Regions from separate parts of the Homo sapiens genome. Here all the other regions are linked to region 1. Evidence: promoter capture Hi-C in human tissues and cell types (Jung and others, 2019). All regions are on one chromosome and are shown on one strand. The core of a region is centred on a gene start or on the middle of the fragment in contact, and the rest is flanking DNA. Distances in the headings are between cores, read along the strand shown.

Region 1 (2,700 bases), core at 184-2,683:
AACCATAGCCTGTGAGCGCTGAAAGGGACCTAAGAGCTCATCTAAGCCAATCTCTTTTTAGGAAGGAGGACAGCGAAGCCCCCAGCGGGTGTCCCTCAGCTAGGCAGTGAGTGGCAGAGCAGAGCTTCACTATACATCTGCTTTTCAAAATGTTTAACCAACTCCTTCAAAAAAGATTTGTATGGAAAGGAAACTGCCTTAATAAAGGCTGCGCGCTAGTGTTTTGGAATTCCTAAGGGGACCGCAAAGATCCCTCAGTGGACACTTAGTGACTGTGATTAAATTTAGTTCCAGACCATCTTAAAGAACGAGACCGCCCACTTGACCCAATCGATTACTCTTAATCAGCACCGGTAACATATGTTATTAATGTGACAGTCTCTCAAGAACTGCCTGACCAAGTTAAAAGCAGAGTTCGGCTAAAATAAGCACTGACCACTGCAGTGATCTGACACACACGTTTGCACAATCCATTGCGCGGCAACCTGGCCTCTCAAAGCACCGATCCGTAACGCTGCAACTCCTGGGCTTTATTAACCGACTAGACTGCCGGCATAATCGATGTACTTCGCAGACCCGCCCGCGAACAGCGGGACACGGCAGACTTCTGGAGGAAACGGTCCGACCTGGCTGCCTCCTGGGTGACTACGGCCTGCCCTCTATTTCCAGAGCGTTCGGCTGGGGGGAACACCCGACTGCAAGGCACTGCCCGAGGAGCACGAATGCCACCCCGAAGGTCCGCCAACTACAACGCCCAGGTTACTTACGTTTTCAGTGTCTCGTTCATTCACCGTTGGCAATGGGGTCCTAGTGGACATTTTACTGCACTTTAATTCTGCACAATGCGAGGGTCAAAACAAAACAGCACAGCCCTAGGAGGCCGGCGACCAGCGTCCTCGAGTCCACGGCAGTTCCGAAAAGGCGCCGTGGGGAGGGCGGCTCCCTTCCCCCTACGGCCGTCTAGATCCCGGGCCTGGCCCGGGCCGTCCCCCGGCGGGTCCCGGGGCTCATTCTCTCCCTGCCTCGGCGGCCGAGGCGAGGAGACCGGGAGGGCGGCAGTGGCGGAGCCGAGCCTGCGGGCGGCGGGCTGCGCTTCGGCCCGCCGGCGTCCCCTTGCCTCAGGGCGCCCCGCGATCCTGGGCCCCCTCACCTCCTTCTCCACTCCCTCCCGTCGCACCGCGAATTTCAGCTCGCGGGCCTCCACACAGCGCCGCCGGCGGCGCCTGAAAACGAGGAGGCGGAGGAGGATGTGAAGGAAGTGGAGCGCAAGACAGGCCGCCGCGGGCTGTGGGCGCCGACCATGGAGCGGGCTGCGGAGGAGGCGCCTGCGCCCGACTGCTTCTCCCTCTCTAGCGAGCTTGCTGCCTCAGCCTCCGCCCTGCTGGCCGCCGCTGCCGCCGCCGCACCCCGGCACCTCAGAGCCTCACGGAGCCAAGATGGCCGCCCCTCGGCTTCCTCTGCTGCCTCCGGCTGCCGGAAGTGACGACAGGCCGCCACCCGGAGTCCCGCCAATCAGCATGGCCTGAGAAAGCCGGCCCGGCTGTTGTTGCTAGGGGCGACTTGGTCCAGACCTCGCCGCGGGGGCGGTGCAGAGGGCTGGATAGTGCTGGTCGGGTCTCCGCTGACTCCCGCGGGCTGCGGGTTCCTCCTGTCCCGAGCGCGCCGGCAACCGCGAAAGAGCCGAGAAACGGCTCTGGGCGACAGCCAGAGCCCTCCCGCTGAGTTGGCATTTACACACTACAGGCCTGGGTTGGCTGGATTACAGATCGAGAGCCTATTGTGCGCAAAAGTTGCGGTTGCATCCCTGGGACTGCGCTGCACCGAATGGAGCCCCAGCATTAATTAATGACAGGGCCGGGGCTACGGGAAGGCGCCGGGCTCTTGCATCCTTAACTGTGACCCGGGAGTCAGGTTCTCGCCAACAAACCTTCCCGTCTCCGGATCTGAGCAGCTGCGGGCTGGGCGCGGACCCTGAGGGCAGCAGGCGCCTCTTGCCCTCAAGGAGCTGGTGGTCAGACGGGTGACAGACCCGGACCCAGCTAAATGCCATCCGGATGGAAGAGTGCAATAACGAGGGTGGCACAAAGGGGATGGGTTTGGGGGCGAAATGAATCTGTAGAGGACCCCAGGGACCAGCTTCCAAATGCCTGTAGGGGGTTTATAAGCAGGCTTTTCTTACAGTCAGTGCGTTGCTGCTGGAAGACTGGAAGCATCTCTGGGTGCCAGCCTCGGGCCAGGCTCGGTAGATGCCTGCAGGCTGGAACACTGGAAATGCTACCTGACCTGGAAGCCTTCCTTGCCCATTCACCTCTTCACGTGCTCGGTGCCTCTACTCAGCTCCTGGCCAGCGGTGGATGGAATCCATGGGTGCAGGGTCCGAAGAGGGAGAGTAGTGTGAGATGGGGGTGACACGAACTGTTACCGAGAGTCGAGTCTACCTTGTGGGTTCATGACATTTGTTACCTCATTTAGCCTCAGGGTAACCCTATGAGATGGGCAGACACACATGCGATCCGAAGTCTAGACAGGTACAGTGACTTGGCTAAAGTACACAGGTTGGTTAGCGACAGAGCTGGGATTCTAACCTAGCTCCCAAAGCTTGGATAATAGGTAAGCCCTTGTAGTGGGGGGCTATGTCATGCTTGCTTTCCCTTTGGTCCGTTGGCATCCCAACTCTCTTGCTATGTTTGAGACATTTCT
Region 2 (2,700 bases), core at 2-2,501, 1.0 Mb after region 1:
GGCACAGGAAATCAGGTTTTACACATATTTGAACTTGGATAACTGAAGCTTACCCATAAACATTTAAGATCTTTATATTTTCACCTTTTTGTTTGTTTGGAGACAAGGTCTCGCTGTGGAATGCAGTAGTATGATCACAGCTCACTGCAGCCTTTACTTCCTGGGCTTAAGTGATCTTCTTGCCTCAGCCTCCCGAGTAGCTGGGACTACAAGCATGAACCATCATGCCCGGCTAATTTTTAAAATTCGTTTGTACAGACGGGGTTCTCATGTTGGCCAGGCTGGTCTCGAACTCCTGACATGAAGTGATCTTCCCACCTTGGCCTCCCAAAGTGCTGGGATCACAGGTGTGAGCCCTGGCGCCCTGCCTTAGCTTTTCCGTCATGTCTTGTTTTGGCTTCAGGATCCTGTATGACATCGAGTCCCCTTGTTTCCTCAGGCTCCTTTTGGCCGTGACAGTTTCTCAGACTTCCCTGTTTTTGATGACTTTGACAATGTTGAGGGATACTGGTCAGGTATTTTGTAGAACATCATGAGATTTATCTGATGTTTTTCTCCTAATTAGACTGAGGTTACGGGTTTTGTTCAGAGGAGGACCACAGAAGTAAAGTGCCATTTCTATCATGTCATATCAAGGGCACGTACTGGATATACTGTCATCAGGACTTTTCTTTGGGTCCCACCTATTGCCCGGGCTGGTCTCAAACTCCTGGGCTCAAGCAGTGCTCCCACCTCAGCCTCCCAAAGTGCTGGGATTCCAGGCGTGAGCCACTGTGCACAGCCAGGACTTTCCACTGCTGAAGTTGACCTTGATCACCTGGCTGGGCAGTGTTTCCAGGTTCCTCTGCTGTGACGTTGCTCTTTCTCCTCCTCCCACGCTGTGCTCTTTGGCAGGAAGTCACTATGCATAGCCCACACCTGGGGGTAGGGACGTATTCACCACCTGCTTGAGGGTGCAGTATCTACATAAATTATTTGGAATTATTCTGCGTGGGAGATTTGTTCCCTCCCTCCCATTTGTTAATTTTTTTTTTTTTTGAGATGGAGTTTCACTCTTGTTGCCCAGGCTGGAGTGCAGTGGGGTGATCTCTGCCCACTGCAACCTCTGCCTCCTGGGTTCAAGTGATTCTCCTGTCTCAGCTTCCCAAGTAGCTGGGATTACAGGTGCCTGCCACCACACCCAGCTAATTGTTGTATTTTTATTTGTTTTTTTTTAATTTTTGTTTTGGCCAGGCGCAGTGGCTCATGCCTGTAATCCCAGCACTCTAGGAGGCCGAGGCAGGTGGATCACCTGAGGTCAAGAGTTTGAGACCAGCATGGCCAACATAGTGAAACCCCATCTCTACTAAAAATACAAAAAATTAGCTGGGGGTGGTGGCAGGTGCCTGCAATCCCAGCTACTTGGGAGGCTGAGGCGGGAGAATCACTTTCGGAGGTTGCAGTTAGCCGAGATCAAGCCACTGCACTCCAGTCTGGGCCACAGAGTGAGACTCCGTGTCAAAAAAAAGAAAAAAAGAAAAAGAAAAGTGGTTTGGGAATAAGTTCTCATTCTATGTTCAAAACCAAAAGTTGATTTTATAGGGTATTATTATTTTTCCTATTTTCCTCTATCCGTTATAGAGAATGGTTTCCAGACCTGGTCTGTGTCTTTCATAACTTTGACCTTCTGGGGGTTTCATGCACCGTTCTTCCTAAGCTGGGCTAACATTTCACTGTGGTCTGTGTTTGCTGTGGGAAGAAGCCACCGATGTTGAAATGTAAGGGCCTGCTGTTTATGCACTGTTCATTCAGGGCTGCACGTGCCTATGTGACTTGAATTCTTTATTGATGGCTGAGCTGCAGGATTGAGCATGACTTCTTGCCTGGGGTCAAGGCTCCAGAATTTTCCTTAGTCTCCTGTTATCAGCTTTTCTTAGAATCAGGTGGCACCAGGGAGCTGCTGCAGGACTCACAGGAAAGAGCAGAGGATTGGGTGTTAAAACTTGGTGTCGGCTGGGCGCGGTGGCTCACGCCTGGAATCCCAACACTTTGGGAGGCTGAGGTGGGCGGATCACAAGGTCAGGAGATCGAGACCATCCTGGCTAACACAGTGAAACCCCAGCTCTGCTAAAAGTACCAAAAAAATTAGCCAGGCACAGTGGCGGGCGCCTGTAGTCCCAGCTACTTGGGAGGCTGAGGCAGGAGAATGGCATGAACCCGGGAGGCGGAGGTTGCAGTGAGCGGAGATCGCGCCACTGCACTCCAGCCTGGGTGACAAAGCGAGACTCTGTCTCAAAAAAAACAAAAACAAAAACAAAAACAAAAAAACTTGGTGTCAGAAGGCATGGTATCGAGTTCTGGCCTCATCCTTCCTCAGCTCAACCTTAAGCAATTTCCCAGCTGTGAAACGGAAATGACAAGTCCTGCCTCTTGGGGTTGGGCCAAATAAAATATCAAACCTTAAAAGATTTGGGAAACTACTTAAGTAAAGTCCTTTAAAAATTAACGTTAGCTGAATTTAGTGCTTGCCACTTCCAATGTAATTGGAGGGTGGTTGGAAGGACCAAGTAAAGGAATTAAGATATTTGACAATTTATATATCTTTTCTTATTTCCCCTTTTTCATATTTATGTATGTAAAGTCAACTATACTTAGGAGTTCAAAATTTGGTCTTTATAGACCTATGCTACTTAAATCTGAAATCCTAGTTACTTCACCCAT
Region 3 (2,700 bases), core at 173-2,672, 1.6 Mb before region 1:
GTGATTCTTGGTGGTTGTGGTGCCTCATGCCTGTAATCCCAGAACTTTGGGAGGCCAAGGTAGGAGGATCACTTAAGGCCAGGAGTTGGAGACCAGCCTGTGTAACAAGACAATACCCTGTCTCTACAAAATTACCAAAAAAAAAAAAAAAGTTAGCTTGGTGTAGTGGCACACTTCTGTAGTCCCAGCTACTTGGGAGGCTGAGGCGTGAGAATCACTCGAGCACAAGAGTTCGAGGATACAGTGAGCCATAATCACGCCACTGTTGTCCAGCCTGGGCGAAAGAGACCCCCTTTTTTTTTTTTTTAAATAAGAACAGTGATTCTTTTCAAGCACAATTCAGATTCCAGTTCCTTCTCTGCTGACCATGCCAGTAGTCTCCATCCCACTCCCAGAATAGCCCAAAAGTCCCTCCACCCCTCACACTTAAAACTTTCCCACGAGATCACAGGGTTCTTTCTCACTGCACTGAGACGTGCTCCTGCCTCCTGCCCCTGCCTCGGGCTTTGCCCCAGCCATTCCTCTCCTGAATTCTCGTCCACTCTTCCTTTTGGTGCTTTAAGACGCTCCTTATCCTAGAGACCTATGTGAGCAGCGCCCCCACGTCACTCCCAGGTTTCCCGACAGCATTTCAGCATTTACCACCGACCTTGGCGCATCCGCACCTGCGGATTGATCTGAGGATTCCCCCCCAACTTCCAGCACTTGGCTCTCAGCTGCAGCCACGCCTGCCGGGCCTGCTGCAGGCGCTCAGGGTATTACTTAAGTCAATGATTGCAGGTTCTCGCATCCTATTTAAAACCTTTTCCACTAAGAGATTTAAAACACGTGTCCCCTGCTTTGAACTTTCACGTTACATTTCTTACGTGTAAACCTAGGAAGCCTTTGGAGATAACCCCGGTCTCTGGAGAGGCTTGGATAGACCTCGGAGCCCAGACCGCCCGGGAATTGCCGTGCCCGGCTCCTCCCGACCCCGGCACGGATGCCTCGGCGGAGAAGTTGAGCCAGGCAGAAGCGAGAGAGTCCAAACCTCTGTTTGCCCCGCCACGCCCGCCCGAGGGCCCCACGTGGGCCCCAGGCGCAGGCGCGTTCAGTTCAGGGCCAGACGCGCGGAGACCTGGGAGCTGGCGGGGCGGGGCCGGACTGGGCGCGGGGAGACCTGGGAGCCGGCGGGGCGTGGGCGTGGCGGGGCCGGGCGCAGGGGCGGGGGCGGGGCAACCGAGGGCGCGCGCGAGCCCCAACGGCCGTCGCCGCAGCGCGGGAAGACGCGCCACAGATGCCCCGCCCGCGTGGGTTTGAACAAGAGGCCCCGCCCCCGGCCCGCGAGTGGCCAATCAGCGGGCGTAGCGCGCGGAGAGCGCAGCGTCGACCCTTTGTGGACGCCGAGTGGCGGTCGCTCGCCCCGCCCCGCGCCGTCGGGCGCTCCTTCCTCAGCGGCGGGAAGCTGGCGGCAGCGGCGGTGGCGGTGGCTGAGCAGAGGACCCGGCGGGCGGCCTCGCGGGTCAGGTGAGCGGGCCCGGCGGACCGCTAGGGCGTCTACGGCGGCGTGCACTTTTGTGCTGCAGGGCGCGGAGGAGCCTGGGGGCGGTGCGCGGAGTCTGTGGCTCCTGGCGCTGGGTCCGGGGCGGAGGCGGCGCCCGGGACCACCGCTGGGGCTGCCGCGGCGCCCTCGCCGCCCTCCTGGGCGCTGGTTCCCCCGCGGGGTGGCCGCTGCTGAGGGGGCCCGGGGAACAGAGGGGCCCGGGCCGCCGTCTGCGTTCCTTGCGGAGCGCGGAGCTGGGGCTTTGCCGAGGCCTGCGGGCGGCCCCACGCGGGAGCCGCTTCACGAGGGCCCGGCTGGGGTACGCAGCGGCGTTTCCCGTACCTCGGCTCTAGTTGCAGCGGAGGGAACGCCAGGCGCGCCGCAGCCCCCTCTGTCGGAGCCCGGCCGCGGAGAGGGCCGCGGATGTGGGAGGAGGCCCAGACCCCGGGCGGGTCGGCCAGCGCCGTCTTCCCTGGGCTCCTCCGGCGGTGCGAGGTGGGACTAGGGAAAGTCCCCGAGACACTTGCAGAAGTCAGACGCAAGCCTCCCTCCGCGTCTTCAGACGCTTCTCGCCCCGCAAACAGGATCGTCGTGGCAAAGGCTCCGACAGCTTGCTGGAATAGAGGGTCTCCGCTGCCTCGCTTCTCCTGTGGCCTTCGTGTGGGACGCACGGGACGGCGGGACCCAGATAACCGTTCTCTCAAAGCGAGCCACAGAAAAACATTGCCTGTTCACAAAACTTACGTTTTATCAACTTTCTACGTACAACCACTCTATTTTCAAGTGTCACCGTGTTTTATAATTAGGGTGGAAATCCAGAATACAAAGTGAGTTACACCCCTTTTCTAGGAAGAGTAGTAGGCTGTATCTTGGAAAAGGGGCTAGGAAGTTTCCCTCAACTTGCCACTGGAACATGTTTTCAGGGAAAAGAAGGAGTGTGTTTCGTTCCAAGTAACAAAAGTACCTGCAATTGGCTGGGCGCGGTAGCTCACACCTCCCAGCACTTTGAGAGGAGGCCTAGGCGGGTGGATCTCCTGAGGTCCCGAGTTCGAGACTAGCTGGCCAACGTGGTGAAACCCCGTCTGTACTAAAAATACAAAAATTAGCTGGGCGTGATGGCGCATGCCTGTAATCATAATCCTAGCTATGTGGGAGGCTGAGGCAGGAGAATCGCTTGA

Evidence for each region. Contacts are between HindIII fragments. The study calls those that stand out against the background at their distance.
Region 2: a contact is called between a fragment that was not itself captured here and the fragment with the promoter of MARK3 in region 1, in 1 of the 25 tissues and cell types used here (dorsolateral prefrontal cortex).
Region 3: the fragment with the promoter of CDCA4 here is called in contact with the fragment with the promoter of MARK3 in region 1 in 1 of the 25 tissues and cell types used here (small bowel).

The regions. Positions count from the first base shown.
Region 1 is chr14:103,384,148-103,386,847 of GRCh38, reverse strand. It overlaps MARK3 (microtubule affinity regulating kinase 3), which reads right to left and starts at 1,433. Exons shown (of 18, transcript NM_001128918.3): 1 at 768-1,433. The coding sequence starts at 818. RefSeq lists enhancers at 497-686, 627-1,616, 1,617-2,608 and a silencer at 967-1,156. The HindIII fragment of the contact is 8,681 bases long and covers 1-2,700 here.
Region 2 is chr14:102,351,476-102,354,175 of GRCh38, reverse strand. The region is part of intron 3 of CINP (cyclin dependent kinase 2 interacting protein); the gene reads left to right. Among named protein-coding and RNA genes, the nearest start is that of CINP, 10 kb to the left of the region's middle. The HindIII fragment of the contact is 9,147 bases long and covers 1-2,700 here.
Region 3 is chr14:105,019,805-105,022,504 of GRCh38, reverse strand. It overlaps CDCA4 (cell division cycle associated 4), which reads left to right and starts at 1,422. Exons shown (of 2, transcript NM_017955.4): 1 at 1,422-1,506. RefSeq lists enhancers at 627-686, 702-1,215, 1,730-2,245, 2,697-2,700 and silencers at 987-1,056, 1,087-1,976, 1,987-2,076. The HindIII fragment of the contact is 13,458 bases long and covers 1-2,700 here.